4 separate regions of the Homo sapiens genome follow, and all the other regions are linked to region 1. Evidence: promoter capture Hi-C in 16 types of primary human blood cells and fetal thymus (Javierre and others, 2016). All regions are on one chromosome and are shown on one strand. Each heading gives the region's core, a stretch centred on a gene start or on the middle of the fragment in contact. The rest is flanking DNA. Distances are from core to core; before and after follow the strand shown. Region 1 holds the start of SYT5 (synaptotagmin 5). Region 2 holds the start of CCDC106 (coiled-coil domain containing 106). Region 3 overlaps SSC5D (scavenger receptor cysteine rich family member with 5 domains). Region 4 holds the start of SHISA7 (shisa family member 7).

Evidence for each region. The method cuts DNA at HindIII sites, captures the fragments that hold promoters and counts their contacts. A CHiCAGO score of 5 or more calls a contact.
Region 2: the fragment with the promoter of CCDC106 here is called in contact with the fragment with the promoter of SYT5 in region 1 in 1 of 17 cell types (naive CD4 T cells); the score reaches 5.7 in naive CD4 T cells.
Region 3: a fragment that was not itself captured here is called in contact with the fragment with the promoter of SYT5 in region 1 in 6 of 17 cell types (M1 macrophages, total CD8 T cells, naive CD4 T cells and 3 more); the score reaches 6.9 in M1 macrophages.
Region 4: a contact is called between the fragment with the promoter of SHISA7 here and the fragment with the promoter of SYT5 in region 1, in 11 of 17 cell types (M1 macrophages, activated CD4 T cells, M2 macrophages and 8 more). The highest score is 11.7, in M1 macrophages.

Annotation. Positions count from the first base shown.
Region 1 is chr19:55,178,701-55,181,858 of GRCh38, forward strand. It overlaps SYT5 (synaptotagmin 5), which reads right to left and starts at 1,589. Exons shown (of 9, transcript NM_003180.3): 1 at 1,417-1,589; 2 at 263-386. The coding sequence starts at 341. It overlaps PTPRH (protein tyrosine phosphatase receptor type H), which reads right to left. Exons shown (of 20, transcript NM_002842.5): 20 at 2,547-3,158. The coding sequence ends at 3,054. RefSeq lists an enhancer at 1,055-1,134 and silencers at 1,122-1,534, 1,415-1,604. The HindIII fragment of the contact is 13,685 bases long and covers 1-3,158 here.
Region 2 is chr19:55,646,519-55,649,676 of GRCh38, forward strand. It overlaps CCDC106 (coiled-coil domain containing 106), which reads left to right and starts at 1,694. Exons shown (of 5, transcript NM_001370470.1): 1 at 1,694-2,559; 2 at 2,687-2,791; 3 at 2,890-3,066. The coding sequence starts at 2,529. RefSeq lists silencers at 1,770-1,889, 1,920-2,049 and an enhancer at 3,110-3,158. The HindIII fragment of the contact is 17,145 bases long and covers 749-3,158 here.
Region 3 is chr19:55,515,076-55,518,233 of GRCh38, forward strand. It overlaps SSC5D (scavenger receptor cysteine rich family member with 5 domains), which reads left to right. Exons shown (of 14, transcript NM_001144950.2): 14 at 2,149-3,158. Among named protein-coding and RNA genes, the nearest start is that of SBK2, 20 kb to the right of the region's middle. RefSeq lists an enhancer at 1,831-2,332 and silencers at 1,852-2,011, 2,142-2,321. The HindIII fragment of the contact is 6,972 bases long and covers 1-3,158 here.
Region 4 is chr19:55,441,810-55,444,967 of GRCh38, forward strand. It overlaps SHISA7 (shisa family member 7), which reads right to left and starts at 1,491. Exons shown (of 4, transcript NM_001145176.2): 1 at 384-1,491. The coding sequence starts at 1,054. RefSeq lists an enhancer at 183-811 and a silencer at 305-394. The HindIII fragment of the contact is 48,275 bases long and covers 1-3,158 here.

The DNA.
Region 1 (3,158 bases), core at 339-2,838:
ACCTTCCAATTCTAAGATCCCATTCCATGCAACACCCCTTGATCCGGTTTCGATTTTTTTTTTTTTTTTTTTTTTTTTTTTTTTGCAAATCTGTTCCTTCCTTTTACCCCATTTCGTTCGCATTCCAGTCCAGGATGACGACCCGGGATCCCAGCCGGATTTTCCAGCCCGCCTGCCCGAGTACACCCGTCCGAATCCCGCCCCTCGGAATCCTGGCCAGGCTTTCTCTCTGCTCGGCCCCCCACCCCCGGGTCTTGCTCACCTGGGCCGTGGCTGATGCGACTGGAGTCGGGAGGCGTGTCGGGCGATGGAGGCCCCGGGGTTGGGGGCTCCGGGAACATGGTGGCGGGGTCCTGGAGTCTTTTCTGCAGAGACACTCAAGCACCCTAGTCCCCCATTCCCACCCCAGACGTCCTTTGAGCCCCACGCACAACAAAGAACTCCAACTCCCATGAGGCCTTTGCGCGAACAGCCGCGCAGAAACCGGACAGCCACCGCGAGTCATGCTGGGAGTTGTAGTATCAGCCTCCCCGCACTTGAGAGGGGGTGTCCAGGACCTAGTTCCATCCTAAAGGGATACCCTCTTCCTCCACGGCCCCACAGGCATCCCGCTGACTTCTGCCTCGTCCTCGCCCCTCCGCAGGGTCTGAACCGGAAGCGGGCGAAGGCAGACGTGGGAACCAGCAGACCGCGTTGCCCAGAGCAACAGCCGGGCTCCTCTCAAGCGGGGTGAGAGCAAAGCTGGTTGCCCGGGCAACGGGTTGTTGCCAGGACAACGGGCGGGGCTGACGCACAGACGCGGAGTCCCGGCGGGGCAGGCTCGCTCCGGGGCCCACCGGTGCCTGGGAACCCCCCAATAGCCCGACTGGGATCCTGAGGTCCCGCGAGGTGGGGAGCGGGCAGCCTGTGGTCCGAGCGCCCACAGCCGACTGCTCCCTCCGCACCTGGTCCTGGGAGCTGAGACGCAGGTTCCCTCTTCCCTCTCCCCAATTTTGCTGGAGGGCGGGTCGGGGGCTGCCCGGTGCCTGTGCTGAGCCCCCTCATCCTTCTTGGCCTGTTGGTCTCTCCACGCATCCGTGCTGCTCTCGTGACCGCCTCGGTCTCCACGCTGCCTCTTGACCCCACATAGGCGTCTTCCCTGTGTCTGCCTCCCCAACCCGCCTGTCTCTCTTCCCTATCGCCTGGCCTCTGTCTCCAGGGTCTCTCCCTCTCCCCTCCGCCTGCGCCCCACTCCCCGCCCTCGGCTCTTTGTCTTCTCCATACCTGTCTCGCGTCCCCAGATCCCTGTCTCTCCGCTTCAGGCTGCTGCCCTCCCTCTGGTTGTCTCCCCAGTGCCCCAGCCCCCACTCGCACACCCCTTTCCTCTAGGGATGCGGATGCGGATGGGCTGAGGGCGGGGGTCCCAGCAGCTCCTACCTGCTCGGCGGCTGGACGGGACACTCCCGGGAGACGCCGAGGCGCCAGCCCCGCCCGGACCCCACCCCCTGCACGTGGGCGGTGGCGCTGTCCCGGGTGCTGATCGCGGAGCTCTCCGGGGCGGGGGAGCCGCGGAGCGGAGCAGGATCCCGTGCGCGCGTGTGTGCCCGTGTGCGTGTGCGCGCGTGTGTGGTGTGTATTGTGTGTGCCCGTATTTGGTCTCGGGTAGGCGGAAAGCCCTGCCCCGCCCCTCCTCCCGCCTCCACCCGGGAACCTCGATGACGCCCACAGATGTTTATCCTGGTGCTTTAGCATTTTCTGCCTTCTGGTCCAGTCGTTGGCCGTCCAGACCACTCCACTCCTCCCGCCCCAACACACACGACACACACCCTGTATAGCCCAAAGAACGGCATGCCAGGATACTCAGTCCTAGGACCTAGGAGACCCCAGACCCCCATTGGAGACCCAGACTCTGCAGGGTTCAGCATCAAAGTCCCCAGCTATCAGCCCCCAGACATCGCCCTCTAAGTTCCCCTAACACCAGTCCCAGGAGGCGGCCAGTGCGGTGGCTCATACCTGTAACCTCAGCACTTTGGGAGGCCGAAGCAGGAGGAATGCTTGAGCCCAGGAGCTGGAGACCAGCCTGGGCAACATAGCAAAATCCCGTCTCTACAAAAATGAGCCAGCGTGGTGGTGCGCACTTGTGATGGCAGCTACTCTAGAGGCTGAGGTGGGAAGATCACCTGGGCCCAGGAGGTCAAGGCTGCAGTGAGCCACTGCACTCCAGTCTGGGCAACAGAGCAAGACCATGTCTCAAAAACAAAAACAAAAACAGAACAAAACAACAACAACAACAACAGAGAAGAGTAAAAGAAAAGCTCAGAAGGCAAGTCCCCAAGCACCTAGCTCCAGCGAGCCCTGTCCATACTGCCCAGACCCTGGACACAGACGTCTGGACACTGCCTTCTCTGAGAGACTCAACCACCCAAACCTACATTTTTTCATGTGCAAATGTGTGGGTCCCTCTAGTCCCCTCCTGGACGTTCGCCTCGATCCCTAGATACCAGGAACCCATCCCTACTCCCAATCCAATATTATTTCCAGACCCAGAAATCCATGGGACAACTGTCTCTGGGGAGAACAGTGATTTAATAAATTATGGGATAGAAGGAAAAATACATGTGGATGGTGGGGTGCAGAGAGACCTTGGGCACAGGGACTCCCTCCGACCCCAGATTATAGAAGACTGATTTGGTTTCTGAAGTAAAATCAAGGCAGGATCCTTCCTGCCTTTGGTCCTCAAGTAGCCAGAACTCCAGACCCAAATTCCTTCCTGCCTCAGAATCCAGGCCCCAGCCTGTTTCTTTCTGCATCCTGGAAAGACCTAGGGAATCCAAGCTATCATCCCTCTCCTCCTTCAGGGAACCAGGAATCCAGATCCCCAGCTCCCATAGGACTCATCTGAAGCCCACCAGACCACTCTCTCCTGGGGAAACCAGAGTTTGGGATACCAGCCCCCTCCTCCCACAGCACCCAGGAGTCTGGGAGCCCAGCCCTCTGCTCTTCCAGGAATCTGGGCTCAAGTGGGTGTCCAGAGCTTGAGGATGCCTGGGCTGCCGACCCAGCCCCCTCGTCACTTAGACCTCCAACTTGTGGGCCTGGATGGCGGCCACGTTCTCGTAGATGAGGTTTTCGACATCCTCATACGGGACTTCCTTCTCGGCTGGGGCCTGGGCTGACTG
Region 2 (3,158 bases), core at 444-2,943, 470 kb after region 1:
GCAATCTCGGCTCACTGCAAGCTCCGCCTCCCGAGTTCATGCCATTCTCCTGCCTCAGCCTCCTGAGTAGGTGGGACTACAGGCGCCCGCCACCATGCCTGTCTAATTTTTTGTATTTTTAGTAGAGACAGGGTTTCACTGTGTTAGCCAGGATGGTCTCGATCTCCTGACCTCGTGATCCGCCCCCCTCTGCCTCCCAAAGTGTTGGGATTACAGGCGTGAGCCACTGCGCCCGGCCCACAAAAATTTCTTTACCATAGTTAGCTTTAGTTTGTGCATTTTTTTTTCCATCAACTATTATTATTACTATTTGAGACGGAGTCTCGCTGTGTCGCCCAGGCTGGAGCGTGGTGCGATCTCGGCTCACTGCAACCTCCACCTCCCCGGTTTAAGCGATTCTCCTGCCTCAGCCTCCTGAGTAGCTGGGATTACAGGTGTGCACCACCACGCCCGGCTAAATATTTTTTTAAACTGCTGATTTCATCCTATTCTATTGAATTCTCCACCCATGAACCTGTAGTTTGGAAAAGACCAATCTAGGGCAGATGGCTCCCCCTGGAATTTTTGGACCAGGCTGCAGTTAATCTGTAAAGTGGGGAGGGGAGGATCATGGTCACAGCTTTGCAGGCGGTGCAGACATTTAGATTCTCCCTCCATCGGGTTAAGACCTTGCTCTTATAAGGGCTGGCCACAGTCCAGAGCTTGGATGCTTCTGGTGAACAGGAGAGGCAGGTGGAGCTGAGCCTGAAGCTTAATAAACATCTGCTTATTCATTCATTTTTCTTGCCTATTTTGTGCCAGGCACTGTGCTAGGCCTCATTTGCTCTTCCGACCTGTTTTTTTGGGAGGAAGAACAAATCTTCCGTTCATACTCCCCAGAGTGGGAAAGAGCCTCCCAGAGGCTGCCATCATACCCCACCATCTGACCTCAAATAATACCAGCAGCGCTCCTCTCTTCAGCCCTGACGATGGCCAGGTGCTGGGCTGAGCTTCTGTGTGTCGCATCACTGCATCCTCACAATAAATTTAGAAGGGCTTGTAATTTCCCCATTTTGCAGGTGAGTTAACAGGCTGGGGAGGAGCAGGAACAGTCAGGACTGGAATCTAGCTTTGCTCCAAAGCCAGCTCTTAATTACCAACATGGGGATGGGGGTGGCGTGTTCCTGGCCCTCATTTTCCGGGAGAGGGGTAACTCCCCCGATTTTGGCCCCCACATCCCTGAGAACCTTGGGGTCTGGCTGTAGGAGGTAGGGGAGCTCTGAGGGGTCCGCGCTGGCTAGTTCCTGAGAGAGCGTTAAAAGTAGATTCTCCTTTCGCTCCAACTTTCTCGGTGTCTCAAACACTCTCCTGCCTTCTGGGCCCATTGGGCACACCGCCACCCAATCCGGGGACCCCCGGAGACTCGCCAGCTCTCCAGGATGGGAATTTCGTGATGTTCCCTGCCTGAGCTTCGGGGAGGGCGGGGGAGTGCTGTAAGGGGCTATCGCGCAAGTGCAGACCCTCTGCTTCTGCCGCAAACGGCGGGCCTCACCTGGACCCGGGGACTCTTCAACGAGGGGCGCTAGCCTGGCCCGACTGGGCGAGTCCCCGCGTCCCTGCCCGTTCCGTCGCTCAGTTCCACGACACGCTCCCCTGCCGCCCCGCCTGTTCGCGGGTGGGTGGGCGCTTCCCTCGGCTCCCCGTGACACTTTGCAGACGCTCCCCGGCGCCGGGCATGGGCGCCGCCGCCGTCGGTCCCCGAGCCGGATTCCGCGAGCGGGTGGGTGAGCGCGGGGGGCCTCGGCCCCTCGGACCCCGGGCACCCGCGGGCGGGGGATGGTGGCCGCGTTTGCACCCCCGCCCTAGTGCATGTTCCCGCTGGAATCGTTCCACGACCGCTCCCCCTCCCACCCGCGGGACAAAGGGCGGGGGCGGGGGGGGCGCACCCCCACGCGTGACCTTTCCCCGTACTGCGCACGCGCCCAGCCCCCACCACCGGGGGACGGTCCGCCCGCCCACGCGAGTGCGGGGGAGGGGTGTGGGGGCCCCGAAGGTAGAGGAGGCAGCGCGCACGGGCTGGACCTCCTCCTACCCTGGGAAGTTGGGGCAGTTTCCCCCTGCACCTGCCTCTTCCTTAGGCCTGGCAGTGGCCCGCGATGAGAGAGGGTCCTTCCCCTTCAGGCTAGGTGTCCCTGGTCAGGCGACCCCTTGGGGCACCCAGCAATTTAGGGCTTCAGCTTCCTTTTCCTTCGATACCCAGGAGCCCACGTCCCCAGCTCACTTCTCCCCCAGGACCTAGGCGGCTGGGCCCCCTGCCCCTGACTCCAGGAGCCCAGGAGTTTGAAGCCCAGGCGCGTTTTGCCTCAGTCCTGGGGTCCAGGCTCCCTCCTCCCTCAGACCAGGGGTCCAGGCCAGAAGGTCCCTCCTGTCTCACTTCACCTCCCCCAGGATGGACCCTCCAGTCCATCTGCGTCTCTCCATTTGTGGCTGCCGTTTCTGTCCAGTGCCCCTGAGGCCCTCGGCTGCTGGGGTCCGTAGGAAGCCGCGCCATGAATGACCGGAGCAGTCGGAGGCGGACAAGTGAGGAAGCTGGGTCCCCTTCCCTACCCTGGGTCCCAGTGCGGTCGGCTCCAGGCTGCCGTGGTTGGGGGGTGGCCTGAGAGGCCCGGGGAATTCTCTGGGGTAACCCGGGGCCTCTCCTCTCCAGTGAAGGACGATGAGACCTTCGAGATCTCCATTCCCTTCGATGAGGCACCCCACCTAGACCCACAGATCTTTTACAGTCTGAGCCCCTCTCGGAGAAACTTCGAGGGTGAGCTGAGGGGGTGTGGAGGGACTGGAGTCAGCTGGGAAGCCAAGCCCTGAGTCCCAGGGTGTGACCTGGTCCCCCCACCCTCGCTGTGTCCCTAGAGCCTCCGGAGGCTGCGTCCTCCGCCCTGGCTCTGATGAACAGCGTCAAGACCCAGCTGCACATGGCTCTGGAGAGGAACTCCTGGCTGCAGAAGCGCATCGAGGACCTGGAGGAAGAGAGGGACTTCCTGCGGTGCCAGCTGGACAAATTCATCTCTTCTGCTCGGATGGAGGCAGGTGTGTGTGGGGTGCTCTGATCCACATGCCTCCCTGTCCCGCTACTGGGTACCCGCTCACCCAGACTCAAGGCTCCACTGTTTGGCTGGCTG
Region 3 (3,158 bases), core at 190-2,689, 340 kb after region 1:
CTGTAGATCTGTGTGGTTCAATACGGTAGCTAAGAGCACCGGGCATGGTGGCTCACGCCTGAAATTCCAGCACTTTGGGAGGCTGAGGCAGGCAGATCACCTGAGGTCGGGGGTTCAAGACTAGCCTGAACAACATAGTGAAACCCCATCTCTACTAAAAATACAAAAAAATTAGCTGGGCATGGTGGCACATGCCTGTCATCCCAGCTACTCAGGAAGTGGACACAGGAGAATCACTTGAACCCAGGAGGCGGAGATTGCAGCGAGCCAAGATCGCGCCACTGCACTCCAGCCTGGGCAACAGGAGTGAAACTCCGTCTCAAAAAAAAAAAAAAAAAAAAAGTTAAATGAATTAACACTTTGAAAATGAAACATTTGCCGGGCGCAGTGGCCACGCCTGTAATCCCAGCACTTTGGGAGGCCGAAGCGGGCGGATCACGAGGTCAGGAGATCGCGACCGTCCTGGCTAACACAGTGAAACCCCATCTCTACTAAAAATACAAAAAATTAGCAGGACATGGTGGCGAGCGCCTGTAGTCCCAGCTTCTCGGGAGGCTGAGGCAGGAGAATGGCATGAACCTGGGAGGCAAAGCTGGCAGTGAGGCGAGATCGTGCCACTGCACTCTAACCTGGGCGACAGAGTGAGACTCCGTCTCAAAAAAAAAAATAAAATAAAATAAAAGAAAATGAAACATTTAGTTTCTCATTCACACTGGCCGCATTTCAAGGGCTTGGTAGCCACATGTGGCCAGTGGCTACTGTATTGGCACGGTAGATCACAGCGCATTCCCATCACTGCAGATGTGAGATTTCATTGCCTAGACTCTATGTGCAAACAACTTGGGTTCAAGTCTTAGCCCTGCAACTTGCAAACTATGTCTGTGTGACCTTGGGCGAGTCACCTGCCCTCTTGCCCTAATTTCCCCCTTCTGTAAAATGGGGATAAAATTGGCACTCACTTGGAAGACAGCCCCAGAAGAGGGTCAGGCTCCTCCTGCTACTCAGGCCCAAAATTTAAGGGGGTGCCCAAAACGCCAAAATCAAGATACATAATATCATAATACAGTATTTTTTAAAATGAAAATTAATGCCAAAAAAAAAAAAACCCATGATGAACTCGGTATCAAAAATGTAACTGAAGGCCGGGCGCGATGGCTCATGCCTGTAATCCCAGCACTTTGGGAGGCCCAGGCGGGCGGATCACGAGGTCAGGAGATCGAGACCATCCTGGCCAACACGGTGAAACCCCGTCTCTACTAAAAATACAAAAAATTAGCCTGGTGTGGTGGCGGGCGCCTGTAGTCCCAGCTACTCGGGAGGCTGAGGCAGGAGAATGGTGTGAACCCGGGAGGCGGAGCTTGCAGTGAGCCGAGATCACGCCACTGCACTCCAGCCTGGGCGACAGAGCGAGACTCCATCTCAAAAAAAAAAAAAAAGTCACTGAAGACAGGATCCTATCCGCCTCGCTGGGCTCCCCCTAATCCTGGCCCTGTTGGATCCCGTCTTTGGTTAAAATGTTAACTTTGGTTAACTGTGGATCTTTTGGATTAATTTTGATTGTTTAAAAATATTGCATAAAAACGCTTGAGCCCAGGAGTTCGAGGTTACAGTGAGCTATGATCTTGCCACCGCACTCCAGCTTGGGCGACACAGCCAGACTTTATCTTAAAAAATAAAAAAATCCATAAAAGTATTTATTTTGATTACTAACATTACCCTTCGGAGCCCTCTTTGGTCTCCCTGCCTCCCCTGGCTCCGCACATCTCCCAGTCCCCCGCTGGCTCAGAATCCTCCCGTATGCTGCACGCTTCTGAGCACTCCCGCCCCCTCCCGCACCCCAGCACCCCACGCATCCCTCCCTCACCTCACCCTCCTGCACCCGCTCCCGCAACCCGCGTGCCCCTCGGCATCCCCGAGTCCGGAGCATCCCCGCATCCTCCCGCAGTGGAGGACGCCAGGTGGCGCCTGGAGCCATCGGAGGACGTAGGGAGGAGGGGCCCTAGGGCCGGGTGAAGTCTGCCGGTGACCCATGACGTCTCGAGGCTCTGTGCCTTTCCATTGGTCGGCTCCTCGAGGGGCGGGGCGGGACGCGTGGTGGGCGGAGCCGGTTGACCTCAGACCGTCCGTCTGTCTTTCCTCCTCCTCCAGGTTCCCCGAGGAAACCGTGGCCCGAGCGCCGGCCACCGCGGCCCGCTGCGACCAGGACAGCGCCCCCAACCCCGTCCCCAGGTCCCTCCGCCTCTCCGGGACCCCCAGGCCCAGCGCTGACCTCTGACTCCAGTCGAGAGCTCACTCCCCACTCAGCCTTGACGTCCGAGGCGACCTCTGACGCTCCGGACACTTCACCACCCACCCCAGACCCGGCCTCCCGGACGAACCCCGACCTCATCTTGACAAGCCCTGACTTTGCTTTGTCCACCCCTGACTCCAGTGTGGTTCCCGCGTTGACCCCGGAGCCCTCACCCACGCCCTTACCCACCTTGCCCAAAGAGCTGACCTCTGACCCTTCTACACCGTCGGAGGTGACCAGCCTTTCCCCTACCTCAGAGCAGGTCCCAGAATCTGACACAACCCCAGATTTGGACACAACTCCATACTCCAGTACAGTCTCAGAATATTCTAGATCCCCAGACCCCTCCCCAAGCCCTCACCCCACTACTACCCCTGATCCCACCATGGCCCCTGACCCCATCACAACCCTTAACCCTACTGTGACCCCTCACTTCCCTACCACCCCTCACCCCACCACGACCCCTCACCCCACCACCATCACTCACTCCACCATGATTCCTGACCCCACCACAACCCCTCAACCCTTCACCACCATCACTCACTCCACCATGATTCCTGACCCCACCACAACCCCTCAACCCTTCACCACCATGCAGCCCACCACAACCCCTCACTCCACAACCCCTCACCCCACCACGACCCCTCATCCCACCACCATCACTCACTCCACCATGATTCCTGACCCCACCACAACCCCTCAACCCTTCACCACCATGCAGCCCACCACGATGCCTCATCCCACCACGACCCCTCACCCCACCACGACTCCTCACCCCACCACAACCCCTCACCCCACCACAACCCCTCACCCCACCATGACTCCTGACCCCACCACGACCCCTTACCCCACCACTACTCCTGATCCC
Region 4 (3,158 bases), core at 241-2,740, 260 kb after region 1:
AGACGTTAAGCAACTCATCCACTGTCACATAGCCTGTAGGCTGTGAACTTGGATTTGGAAGTCAGGCTTTTCCACCAGGGCAGAGACCTTGTTTTGTTCACTGGTGTATCCCCAGCTCCTGGCCCACAGAAGGTGCTCAAGAAATATGTGTCGAATGAATGAGAGTCTGGGCTTCTCCCTCTCCCTGCATCACTCCGCAACAGCCGGGCCGGCTCTGGCGCGACTTTCTCAGCCCCTGCCCACCTTCAGCTACGCCGGCGGCCGCCACCTGGGTCTCTGACCACCACGCCCTATCCCTGCAGCCCCTCCTCCTCGGATGGCTCCACCTCCCTTGCTGGGCCCCGCCCCAGGCTCGCAGTCCTCCCGCCCGAGAGCACACGCACCTGGGCACGTTGATATCCCGGTGCGCCCGGGGCGCACGGGACGCCTTGCTGAAGGCCACTTTGGCGCCGACGCCCACGGCCAGGGCGAAGCTGATGACCCCGCACACGACGTAGGCTGTGCTGCCCCCGGGGCCCTCGCCCCCGCGGCCCCCGGCACCCCCAGTCCGGCCCCCTTCCAACCACCCGGCCTGGCCGGGCCCTGGCCCCCCGCCCGCACCCCCAGCGCCCCCGGCGCCCCCAGCTAGCGGCGGCGGCGTGGTGGCCCAGCGCGGCGTGTCGTAGTTGGAGCAGGAGGCCTGCGCCAGGCGCATGTGACGGTGCTCACAGCAGAAGCGGTAGTGGCAGGTGCCACAGCAGAAGCGGTAGGAGCCGGTGCTGCAGTTGAAGGTGGCGTCGTACTGGCCCATGACATCGTAGTAGCCGTGGCAGAGCTCGGCGGGAGGGGGCGCCCGGGCCGCCGCGCCCGCCCCGCCCGCGGGGCCGGTCCTGGTGCCGTTGGCGCCTGGGCTCGCCGCGCCCCCGCCGCCCGTCAGCGCCCCGGTCAGGCGCCGCAGGTGCGCCAGCAGGGCGGGCAGCGGGCCCGCGGGCTCGGCGCTCGTGGCGTTGGACGGGCGCGCCCTGGCCTGGCCGGCGCTAGAGGCCAGGAGTACGAGGAGCAGGAGGGCCGGCATGGGGCTTGCAGGGGGTCGCACTGGGCCGCCAGGCTGCGGGGAGAACGAGAGCAGAGGTTGGAGCGCTGGGCGGGAGAGAAACGGTCAGAGGGTGAGAAACGTAGAGATGGGTGGGCAGAGAGGCTGGGGAGGGCGGGCGGGGGGCGGCAGAGTGTGGGGAGCAACAGGCGCCAGGAGGCAGGAAGGGCGGAGGGAGCTGAGCTGCGTGGGCCCAAGTTGGCCGCCCCACGCGCGGTGGGCGACGATGGGAGAGTAATGGAAACGCGCCCGGGCACGGCTGGGGGAGAGAAATGAGCATGGGCGGACAGAACCGGGATCAGGCGAGAGATGAATGCGGGAGAAGCGATTGGGAGGGTCGACAGACACCAGAGGGGTGTGCAGACATTAGGACGAGGAGCGAGGCGAGGCGCGATGTAAGGAGAAGAAACGGGGGCGGCGAAGAGGAGAGGGCAGGGGAGGCAGCTGGAGGGAGGCGCGCGAAGGGGAGGGGAGGGTGGCGAGGGGAGTGGGGACCGCGGAGGGAGGGAAGGAAGCGAGACAGATGAGGGGTGGGTGGGAAAGGAGGAGTCAGGGAGACGGGGAAGGAGGGAGAAAAGAAGGGGAGGAGGAGGAGGGGGAGGAGAGGGAGGGAGGAGGAGAGAGAGAAGTTGAGAATTTGAGTTTATAGACCAGGCAAGTGGGAAGAGGCAGTGCACGGTTTTTCAACACTGACATTCGGGGACCGATGCTGCTTTGTGGTGAGCGCCTGTCCTGAGCGCTGTAGGATGTTTAGCAGCGCCCTCTCCATGCCAGCAGCACCACATTCCCCCGAGTTGTGACAATGTAAGATGTTTCCAGGCATTGCCAAATGTTCCCCTGGTGGGAGGAGGCCACAGCTGCCCCCGTGGAGAACCACTGACTTACACCCCTATGGTCCTCAGTGCCCCGAAATGCCAATTTCTCTCCCTTAGTTAGATCTGATAATCAAGGGATCTTAGGTGCCCTCCCTCCCTCCCTCTCTCTCCCTCTCTCTCTCTCTCTCCCTGGCATGCACACGCACACACACACCACTGTTACGGCGTCGGGTTTGAAGGGTCTCTGTCCACAGCTGAACCACAACCACAGCAGGGTGGTTCCCCTGCCGACTGGACCTCCTGCCAGCTGCCTGACACTGACAGGCTCTTATCTAAGCTCCCTGTGCCCCAAGTCCCCCATCTGTAAAATGGGGATAAGGATGGTTATCTCTGAGTGGTCAGGAGGATGAACTGAGGGAATATGTGTAAAGAGCTTAGAACAGTGCCTGGCATATTGCAGGTGAAATATGAAAGTGTTTGCTGCTGCTGCTATTTCAGAAGGGAGATACAGGCTGAGAAAGGGTCGTCCGGGTGCGGCGGCTCACGCCTGTAAATCCCAGCACTCTGGGAGGCCAAGGTGGGCAAATTGCTCAAGCAGGAGACCAGCCAGCCTCGCCAACACAGCAAAACCGTGTCTTTACAAAAAAAAAAAAAAAAAAAATTAGCCCGGCGTGGTCGTGCGCACCTATAGTCCCAGGTACTCAGGACGCTGAGGTGGGAGGATAACTTGAGTCCCAGAGATCAAGGCTGCTGGGAGCTGTGATTTCACCACCGCACTCCAGCCTGAGTTGACAGAGTGAGACCCTGTCTCAAAAGAGAGAGAAAAGGTGATGCAGAAGAGAGGTGGGAGTTGGTGGTGGTGGTGGTGGGCACGTCTTCCAGCTGTTTCTATGGCAACAGTCCAGCCAAGTCCCAGACACGCCCACCCCCGTGGACCTAGAGGGATGATAGAGGTGGGAAGGATGCCTGGCCTCGGGTTCCGGGAGAAGGAAACGTCTGAGCTCTACCTGCAGGAGGAACCCCCCAGGGGTCTGGGGTGACTGCCCACGGAGTCTTACATTTCCTCTCTGCAAGAACCTGATCTGAACAGCCCCTGCCCTGAGCTAGCTGCCGAGAGGCTGCCATAGAGCTTCCCAGGAGCAGGCATGATGCGCGGGGTGTGCATTCGTTCTGCAAATCTTCATTCAATAAATGTCTCCTGAGCAGCCTCCCTGGGCTGAGGATGCAGCAGTGAGTAAGCCCACAGGGTTCCTGCCTTTACGGGGGTTTAC